2 separate regions of the Homo sapiens genome follow, and region 2 is linked to region 1. Evidence: promoter capture Hi-C in human tissues and cell types (Jung and others, 2019). All regions are on one chromosome and are shown on one strand. The core of a region is centred on a gene start or on the middle of the fragment in contact, and the rest is flanking DNA. Distances in the headings are between cores, read along the strand shown.

What was found. Contacts are between HindIII fragments. The study calls those that stand out against the background at their distance.
Region 2: a contact is called between the fragment with the promoter of NUP98 here and the fragment with the promoter of OSBPL5 in region 1, in 1 of the 25 tissues and cell types used here (mesendoderm cells).

What each region holds. Positions count from the first base shown.
Region 1 is chr11:3,164,030-3,168,417 of GRCh38, reverse strand. OSBPL5 (oxysterol binding protein like 5) reads left to right here and starts at 3,108. Exons shown (of 22, transcript NM_020896.4): 1 at 3,108-3,202. RefSeq lists enhancers at 1,914-2,626, 4,370-4,388. The HindIII fragment of the contact is 28,319 bases long and covers 1-4,388 here.
Region 2 is chr11:3,794,243-3,799,048 of GRCh38, reverse strand. NUP98 (nucleoporin 98 and 96 precursor) reads left to right here and starts at 1,495. Exons shown (of 33, transcript NM_016320.5): 1 at 1,495-1,649. It also overlaps a transcript of PGAP2 not described here. RefSeq lists silencers at 1,479-1,648, 1,729-1,818. The HindIII fragment of the contact is 8,862 bases long and covers 1-2,902 here.

The DNA.
Region 1 (4,388 bases), core at 1,859-4,358:
GGGGTTTCCTCTGAGCCGGTGGGTCTTCATTATGAACCAGGTGGCAGAGCACGGCAGATCAGAGCACAGTTCTGGAGCCAGAGAGGTTGGTGACTGCCTCGCCTGCTGTGCCTCAGCTTCCCCATCTGTGAAATGGAGCCAATCACGACAGAACCAGCTCATAAAGTTGTGAGGCAGATTAAATGCACCAAGTGTCTAAAGCCCTCAGAAAAGGGTCTGACACGAGAAAGGTGCCCACAGCCATCTTATTCACCCCTCAGTCGGGGTCAGGAGAAGTAGATGAGATGCAAAGAACCTGGGACAGGGTAGGGGCTCCATCAGCAGGAGGCCTTGGGGGCTTAGACCAACCACCCGAAACCAAGGAGTGATGCCAGCAGGTGGACATGTATTCACTTCTGGGGCAGGGATTCTTGACCTCAGCATGACCAGCATTTGGGGCCGGGTCACCCTTTGTGGTGGAGGCTGTCCCGTGCATGACAACGTGTTTAGCAACATCCTCGGCCTCTACCCACTAGACACCAGTAGCAACCTCCAATGACGACGGCCAGAACTATCTCCAGGCAGTGGCAAATGCCACCTGGAAACTGGAGGCAAAACCGCCCCTAGCAGAGAACTGCCATTCTGGAGACTTGGATTGGAACTGCCCTGATTTTAAATTGCACTGTCCTTGCAAAGCATTTTTTAAGTTCTTACTTATCACAGACATATTTTTCTGAATTACCATAAATTCCAAACTAACCAGCTGGGCGCTGCAAGCCGTTCCTTCCCATAGTCCACTCATGGTCCCCAGTGCCCACCAACAGCCAGCGCTTGCAAAGTCTGTTGGCCCACTGGGGACTTATGGCAGCTCATGCAGCGGAAACTGCTCTGGTCATCGCCATTTATAGATGAGGAAACTGAGGCACGGCCAGTTGCACAAACCTGCTCAAGGGCTCCTGGATGGTGGGGCCTACTGGGCGTGCCCCCCTAAAGCTGGTGCCATTGGCACCTGGCTCTGCCCATCTCTGAGACCTCTGACGCCTTCATTTCCTGCGTTGGCCACCAGGCACAGATGCTGTGTCCATCTGACAGGAGAGGAAGCGGGGTCCCAGGAGGAACAAGCCACTGCCTGGTGACAGAGCTTCTTTCTGGCAGCAGCAGGATTCGGACCTACCTCTTGCTGGGGGCAACCTCTTCGGCTCACTGCCTCTCCAAAACCAGGCAAGAGGCTGGAAATGGGGCTTTCTGGAAAAATGCAGAGCCTGCTGGGAAGTGGGGCAGACAACTGACACCTGTCACTGAGCCTGGCAGGTGGCGTGTTCTTCATTTCTTGCATGGCCATCTGGCTGTCAGACACTACCCAGTGAGAGGCTCAACCCTCGTCCTGCTCCACCCCAGCCCCACCCTGCTGTCATCTATGGCCCCTTCCCCCACCCTCAGGTGCCTCTTTGACTTTTGACCTCTGCCCTCAGCAGTGTCATTTCATGAAACCCAGGCCCTGGACAGCCAGCATCAAGCAACTGGCAACCTTCCCTACTGCCGCCCCTGAGACCTCCGCCCTAGGGATAGGGGCTTTGTTTTCTTCCCTAATTCCCTTTGGATTGGCTCCAGCAACCAGCAAGTTACCAGGCAGCAGCACCTCAGCTTTGGGCGGAGTCTTCAAAGAGCAGACCCAGCAGTTGTATGTGGATCCCAGCTGCACAGACCCTCTCCTGCAGAGGCAGAGGCCGCCTGCCACAGGCCACGCGGAGCAGGGTCCCACCATGGCCCTGAGCATCTTGACTGAGCAGTTCTGCATCCCAAGGCCTCACAAGGTGACTATGGAATGGCAATGCTAGCCCTGGGGGTAAGCTTAGGGCAAGTCCGATCAGCCCACTCGCCTCCGTAAGCCGTGGGTTCCTGTGATCCGCACACAAGCGGCTGGTGCTGCTATCCCCAGGAGGATACCCACCAACTTGTCTAACGGGGTGGGCAAGGCCAGGGCTGAGACGGGAAGGGGTCTGGCTTGTTGTGGGCAGAGCACCTGCATGCTGTGCCGTTCCCCCTTCAGGTGCTGGAAGGAGCCTTCCTGGGCCGCTCGCCCTCCGCAGCCCTGCTGGGAGGTCTTGCAGACGCCCATGATAGCCAGGCTTGCGGCCTCCCGAATGCAACTGCAGCGTGAAACCGTAGAAACACACGTGTCAGTGGCAGTTCTGCCTGGGGAGGAGCCCAGGGCTCTCTGCGGAGGGTCAGTTCTGTCCCTGTTAAGGTTCTGTGTGGAAAAGACTCCACGCCCTCTTGGGGTCTACCTACATCTGGGGATGCCCGAGCCCAGCTCCCAGTTTTTCTGGTCATTTGGGGACATACCATAGGAAGGACCTGCAGTGCACCTCAGGCTTGGACACTAGGGATGCAAACGCCCTGGGGCCAGCCCTGGGCCCACACCCAATTTAGGGTCTACAGGCAGGGAGCCAGGGGCCAGGGGAGGACTTCTCAGCTCCCAAGGGGATGCTGTTTAGGGGAATTAGAATGTCTTTTATATACAAGAGAACTGAGGGGTCTAAAAAGGTCTCTGGGGGGTAGAAGAAGGTGAGGAGAAAACACAGGAAGAAATGCACATGAGGGGAGGTTCTTGTCAAAAGGGTCCTGAGAAAGACGTACAGTTAGAGTGTGACTGAGGGTCCTTCTTAGCACATAAGGGGCAGGGACAACGGGCTCAGATGTCTGGGGCTCCTCTTGTGTTCTGATGGCTCCTGAGACGGGGAGAAACGGCGACAGTTTCCTGGGTTCAGGAAGGGAGAGGAGGCGCCTCGCACCCTGGCTAGGGTGGGCTGGGGGCCTGCACCCCTAAGTTGGAGAACCCCACGAAGCTGACCCCACTCACCGCTGCCCACCCCGCCAAGCCTCCTGGCCATTTTCAGCGGAGTGTCCCGACCTCTGGCCGCCCGGGTGGGTGTGAGCCCCGGAGCGCGCGCGGGGGGTTGGGGGATGAGGAGAAGCGGCAGCCGGTGGGGGGCAGCCCCTGGGCGCCCGCTCCGCGCGGCGATTCGGCCCGGGTTTTGCGGCCGCCGCGCCTCCTCCTCCCGCCTCCGGGCTCCCTGGGCCTCCTCCCTCCGCCGCGCCCTCGCTCCGCCTCGCGCGGGGGGACCATCTGCTGGCATTTCCTGCAGCCAGGCCCGCGCCGCCAGTGGAGCCCCCGCGCGCCCGGCCGGCCCGGAGCACCGAGCTCGCGGCACGGTAGGAGGTAGGAGCGCGGCGGCCCGGGGGGCGGCAGGGCGGCGGGGGGATGGCGGGCTGGGAAGGATCCGGAGGGCCCCGCCGGGCAGGGCCGGAGCGAACCGAGGGCCGCGGGGGGCCGGCCGAAGGGATCCAGGAGCTCGCGCCGCAGCCCCGCGGACCCTGGCAGTAGCCAGTGCGGGGAACCACGCCGCGGGGCCGGTCGCGCGCTGGGGAGCTGGGGAGCGCGGGAGCCTGGGGGCGCCCCGGGCCAGGACGGGTCGGCGCCTGGCGGGTTGGGGCGGGTGGGGCCCGCGAGTGGGAAGCGGCGCGCCCAGCTCGGCTCCCCACTTGGTGGGGCTTAAAGGAGCCGGGACCGCCAGGGAAGGTGGCTGGGTCTGACCACCACAAACCCTGGCCAATCAGGGGGTCTGTCCCCCCAGCTCGGCCGACGCGGGCTCCAAGGAGCCAGGTCTTGATGGGTCTGCAGGGGGTCTGGGATCTGAGTCTGGCGTCCCAGCTGCGGGCTTGGGAGGACTGCTGTGTCTGAGTCCGCAGAGTCAGGGGGCTGCCTGGATTACAGGCTAGGGAAGGACCTTGCCCACAGCCCCCATCTCTGGGGCACTGACCCCCTGAAGATGTGGAGCCTTAGGGATTGTTGAGGTGCCTGAGTCCTCAAGAGGGTCTTGTGCACTTGAAGATTCCTCCCGGGGAGCGGGGTGCAGGAGGGTGGGGCAGGCAGGAAGGAGGCTGGAGTCTGCAGCCCCCCGGGCAACAGGCCCGTCCTGGGCTTCCCAGGCACCGCCCCCAACCCCCACCCAGACCGCTGGGCTGCCTCCTGTCAGAAGCCAACTGGAGTTAGGGTTTGGGGTGACTCCTGGGGGTATGGAGGGGTCACAGGGTGGGCTTACCTGCCCCTCCCTCGTCCCTGGGCTGAGCCCAGCCCCTCCCTCATCCTTGGGCTGAGCGGGTCTGCCCCGCCGAAGCGGCTGGGTGGATTTCCTCTCTTGCCGTTTCGCAACTTGCTCCCCTCTGTGTGTCTGCCCCAGTCTCTTCAAGGTGCCTTTTACAGGAAGACTTCTGTAAGGGTCCCACCCCACCTGATACAGCCTCCCAAAGCCTGGAGAAGTGGGCCAGCCTTTGGGATCCTAGATAGATGCTCTTGGGTCTGCCTGCACCAGGGCTGATCCAGATCCCAGACTGAACAGAAACTC
Region 2 (4,806 bases), core at 246-2,745, 630 kb before region 1:
GGCCTGCCCAAGCATTAGCTCAACTCGCTGTGAAAGCTTGGCAAATGTATCACTGAGAAGATGGGAACATTTGAAATACCCGTCCTTTAAGAATAAGTAGGGGTTCGGCTGGGCGCGGTGGCTCACGCCTGTAAGGCCAGCACTGTGGGAGGCCGAGGCGGGCGGATCACCTGAGTTCCGGAGTTCGAGACCAGCCTGGCCAACATGGTGAAACCCCATCTCTACTAAAAATACAAAATCAGCTGGGCGCGGCGGCGAGTGCCTGTAATCCCAGCTACTCGGGAGGCTACGACAGGAGACTCTCTTGTACCTGGGAGGCGGAGATTGCAGTGAGCCGAGATCGTGCCACTGCACTCCAGCCTGGGAGAAAGAGGAGACAGAGCAAGACTCCATCTCAAAAAAAAAAAAAAAAATTAGTTCATGGGCGAGGTGGCTCACGTCTGTAATCCCAGCACTTTGGGAGGCCGAGGCGGGTGGATCACTTGAGATCAGGAGTTCGAGACCAGCCTGACCAACACAGTGAAATCCCCGTCTCTACTATAAATACAAAAATTAGCTGGGCCTGGTGGCGGACGCCTGTAATCCCAGCTACTTGGGAGGCTAAGGCGGGAGAATCGCTTGAACCCGGGAGGCAGAGGTTGCAGTGAGCCGAGATTGCGCCAATGCACTCCACCCTAGGCGACAACGCGAGACTTCATCTCAAAAGAAAAAGAAAAAAAAAGAATTAGGGGTTCTCCACGTGCAGCTGGGAAAGACGTTCCAACAATCCTCATTTGTACCAGGCCCTTTGGTGGGCCAGTCCCTTAGGGCATCTCTAATGCTCCTAATGTCCATCCTAGAAATTCAGGGAGGGAAAGAAAGTGCTGGGGCGAGCATGGGTCAGGAGAGAATAGGGTCAGGATTTAGGGCCCTGAAGAAGCCTCGGGCAAACTCTTTGGACAGACAGACCTTCCAAGAGGGCCCTCAGGCTCCGCACGTGGTCTGGGCGGGAAGTGCGGGCAGAGAGACTAGGAAGCCTTCCCAGCAGCGCCGGCGGACCGGGGCAAGGAAAGGGTCGAATAGTTACCATGCCATTCTGGGGCCGTCCCTCTGATTGGCCCGAGCTCCCTCAGCCCGAGTCGCGGCGCTCCAAGGAAGGGGGCGGAGTCTCTATGTTGCGTCACCACCCTTCCCGACACCCCGCCGGTGCTTCCCAATCTAGCCATTCACAAGCCCACTTCGAGAGGCCCTGTGTGACGTCACGACACGCTCCCGCCAACCGCGGCGGCGAGGGGCGGGACTCCACGGCCCTCTCACCGCTCCTACCCTGTGCCTCCCCGAACTCCTTCTGCCCCTCCTCTTCCCTCTCGCCCCTTCCCCCTTCAGTTCGGTTTCAAAAGACGCGTTGCCCAATGAATAACAGGGTCGACCCAGAGTGGCGGCCGCGTCCACCAATTCGCGGACGGCGAGGGCGGAGCGTCCGCAACGAGCCTCTGACGCCGGGCGGCGTGTGACGCAGTCGGGCCCTCTGCGCGCTGCGCCCGAAGCGGCGGTCGGTGGCAGGGGTGGTAGCGGCGGCGGCGACGGTTTCGTGGGGGCCGCGCGCTGCTCTGTGAGCGGCGGGTGGCAGCAGGGGACTCCTGACACTTCCCCTTCCCCACCGAACCGCGGTAAGTCGGGAGCCCGAGCTGCAGCGGCCGAGACCGGCAGGTTTCTCCCCCCTTCCGGGCGGGCGGACGCGCGGGGCGTCTCAGGGCCTCTCCGCTTCGAAGTCTAGCGCCGCTGCGCGCACCTTCTGGCCTGAGAGAGGGGCGGTGCTGAGGACCCGGGGGCCCGGAGCCCGGGAGGCCCGGCTTTGGAGGCCCTGGGAGAGAATGGACATCAGTGGGGTCTAGGCCTGGAGGTCTCCAGTTGCTGCCCACGCGAGTGGGTGTCTGTCTGGTTGTACTCATTCATTCAGTGGTGTAAGGACCCCACGGTGGGCTGGCCTTTCCGGGGTCAGCGCCTTGAAACCCTGAATACGGTCTGCCCCGCACTTCCTTGACCGTCATGTGGGACTGGGCTTTATTTGCCTTGGCTTCTCCATAAGGGAAGTGGGCACCCCGAGGATTAGGGTGAGTCCGAAGTTTGGGAGATTTTTAAGATAATATCTGAGAATAGGAGTCGGTTCGGTGGAGCAAAAGGTTCTTTTCTATTTTCCCACGTGTTCAGTGTAAAGCCAGATGAGGAGACAGATTGAGTTTCTGGATTACTATAGCCATAAGGACTTTAGAAATTGTTTAAGTCAATCCCCCTACCTTACATCAGTTTTGTAGATGGGGAAACCGAGGCCCGGAGTAACAGGCAGGATTAGCCAATGCCAGATTTTTGACAGTCTAAACAGTTTTCTACTACCTCACCCTCCCTGGATATTTCAGTCTCCCATTATTAAGAATTCCCTTTAGGAGGTCGGTGCGGCATGGACATTAGGTAGCTAAACGTAGATGTAGTCTTCACAGCGTTTTCCGTTTAGTTGCTACCAGCTCTGTTCACGGGTAAGGTGGAAGCTTCGTTAGTGGTACCCTAACCTAGAGCTTGAGAACTAAACTTAGAAGATGGTTAAAGAACGTCAGCGTTGTTATGTATCGGAAACAAATCGGTAAAACTACAAGCCATTGTTTCCCTTTCTAAATCTGAATTTTTTGACTTGTGTCAGCTGATGAGGACTCGGAGTCAGTTAGGGATTTATAACAGTACTGGAATAGAAAGCAGGAAATATTGATAAGACTTAGAAAGCCAGGTAGGAGTCCGTTTGTAGTAGTTGTACCTCGGAACTCATGGCTCCTTTCAGGTACAGAATTCAAAGTGAAGTATTATAGTAGAATAAGGTGAGGAAATAAAACTCCGTTTTGGAGGAAGAAGCTAACTGGAATAAAGAGCAAAAAGAGAGCAGTGATCATTCCCTGTGACGGTCTTACAAATTCGAAAAGAAACTCGAGTTAACTGGGTTACAGTATGTTTACCTGGTGGAGGAAGTTAGGGTATTTAAAAACCAAAACTAGAGGTTGGACAGGATAAAGGTACTGGGAAATACTTGGGTAAAATTATTCTTTTTGACTCTTCAGATTTGATGAAATTGAATTAGTTGACACTTGGTTCTGTACACATCAGTAAGATTGTTACTTTGTTCTTGTATAGATGACAAAGCATAAACTCAGAACTAGTAGTGCAGAAGAGAACCGTAGTCTAAATAGTAAAGCGTGAACAGGGTATGTTTTCCGTGACATTTTCTCAGTTCAGGCATCACCCTCTTCTGGGAAGCTTTTCTTGGCATTCTCTTCTCTGCAAGCTTCCATAACACTTATTTGATATTTCTATTTATAGCACATATCATTTTTATTTTAGCTGTTTTTTTAATTAGGCTGGTAAAATATTTTCATCTTATCTTTGTTGTCCAGTTGCTTGCCACATAGTAGGCCCTCAGTAAGTGTGTTTACTTGAATGAATAGACAAATATGGAGGAGTTATACCTAACAGTAGTCAATAGAGAGGCTCCTGAAATATGGGGCCCAGATAAGATAGTTCCTGCTGTTTATATGTTATGTGATACTTTGGTCCCTGACATTTATTTGTTTATTTATTTATGAGATAGGGTCTCACTCCATCACCCAGGCTAGAGTGCAGTGGCGCAATCTCGGTTCACAGTAGCCTCTACCTCCTGGGCTCAAGCAATCTTCCCACCTCAGCCTCCCAAGTAGCTGAGACCACAGGTGTGCACCACCATACCCAGCTAATATTTTTTTGTATATTTTGGGTAGAGACAGGGTTTCGCTATGTTGCCCAGGCTGGTATCGAATTCCTGGGCTCAAGCCATCCCCCACCTCGGCCTCCCAAAGTGCTGGGATTACAGGTATGAGCCACTGTGCCCAGCCAGTACCTGACTTTATGTCTACTAGGTCCTAGATAACTAAGAGCAAGTAGAATTTTTAAGGAACTAAATTTACGGCTTTGAAAAAATTATATTATTTTCTTGTAATATGATTTATGTGGTGGTAGTTAACCTGGAAAGTAAAGAATGATGGTACTAATGTTTAATTTCCAATAATGAGACTATGCAGTTATGTAATTTGTTGAAAGGTTAGGGAACTAAGAAACTCAGAGATTTAAGGATAAGTATTGGCTGAGCATGGTGACTGACTACTGTAATCCCAGCACTTCAAAGGTCAAGGCAGGTGGATTTCCTGAGCCCAGAAGTTCAAGACTAGCCTGGGCAACATGGGGAAACCCTGTCTCTACGAAAAATACAAAAATTAGGCAGGTATGGTGGCATGCACCTGTACTCCAGCTACTTAGGAGGCTGAAATCAAAGAAACATCAGAGCCTGGAAGATTGAGACTGCAGTGCTGTGATTGCACCACTGCTTTCCAGCCTGGGAAACTGCGTGAGGCCCTGTCTTAAAACAAAGGCGTGGTGTGGTGGTTCACGCCTGTAATCCTAGCACTTTGGGAGGCCGAGGCGGGTGGATTGCCTGAGCTCAGGAGTTTGAGACCAGCCTGGGCAACATGGTGAAACCCCATCTGTACTTAAAAAAAAATATGAAAAATTAGCTGGGCGTGGCAGCATGCGCCCATTGCCCCAGCTACTCGGGAGGCTGAGGGAGGAGAATTGCTTGAACTCGGGAGGCGGAGGTTGCAGTGAGCCAAGATTGTGCCACTGCACTCCAGCCTGGGCGACAGCGAGACTCTGACTCAAGAAAAAAAGAAAAGAAACAAAACAAAACAGTATGTATTAGAGGCAAGGTAGGTAAACATTTCCTGAGAACTTGGTGCATTCTTTTTGTTTGAAATT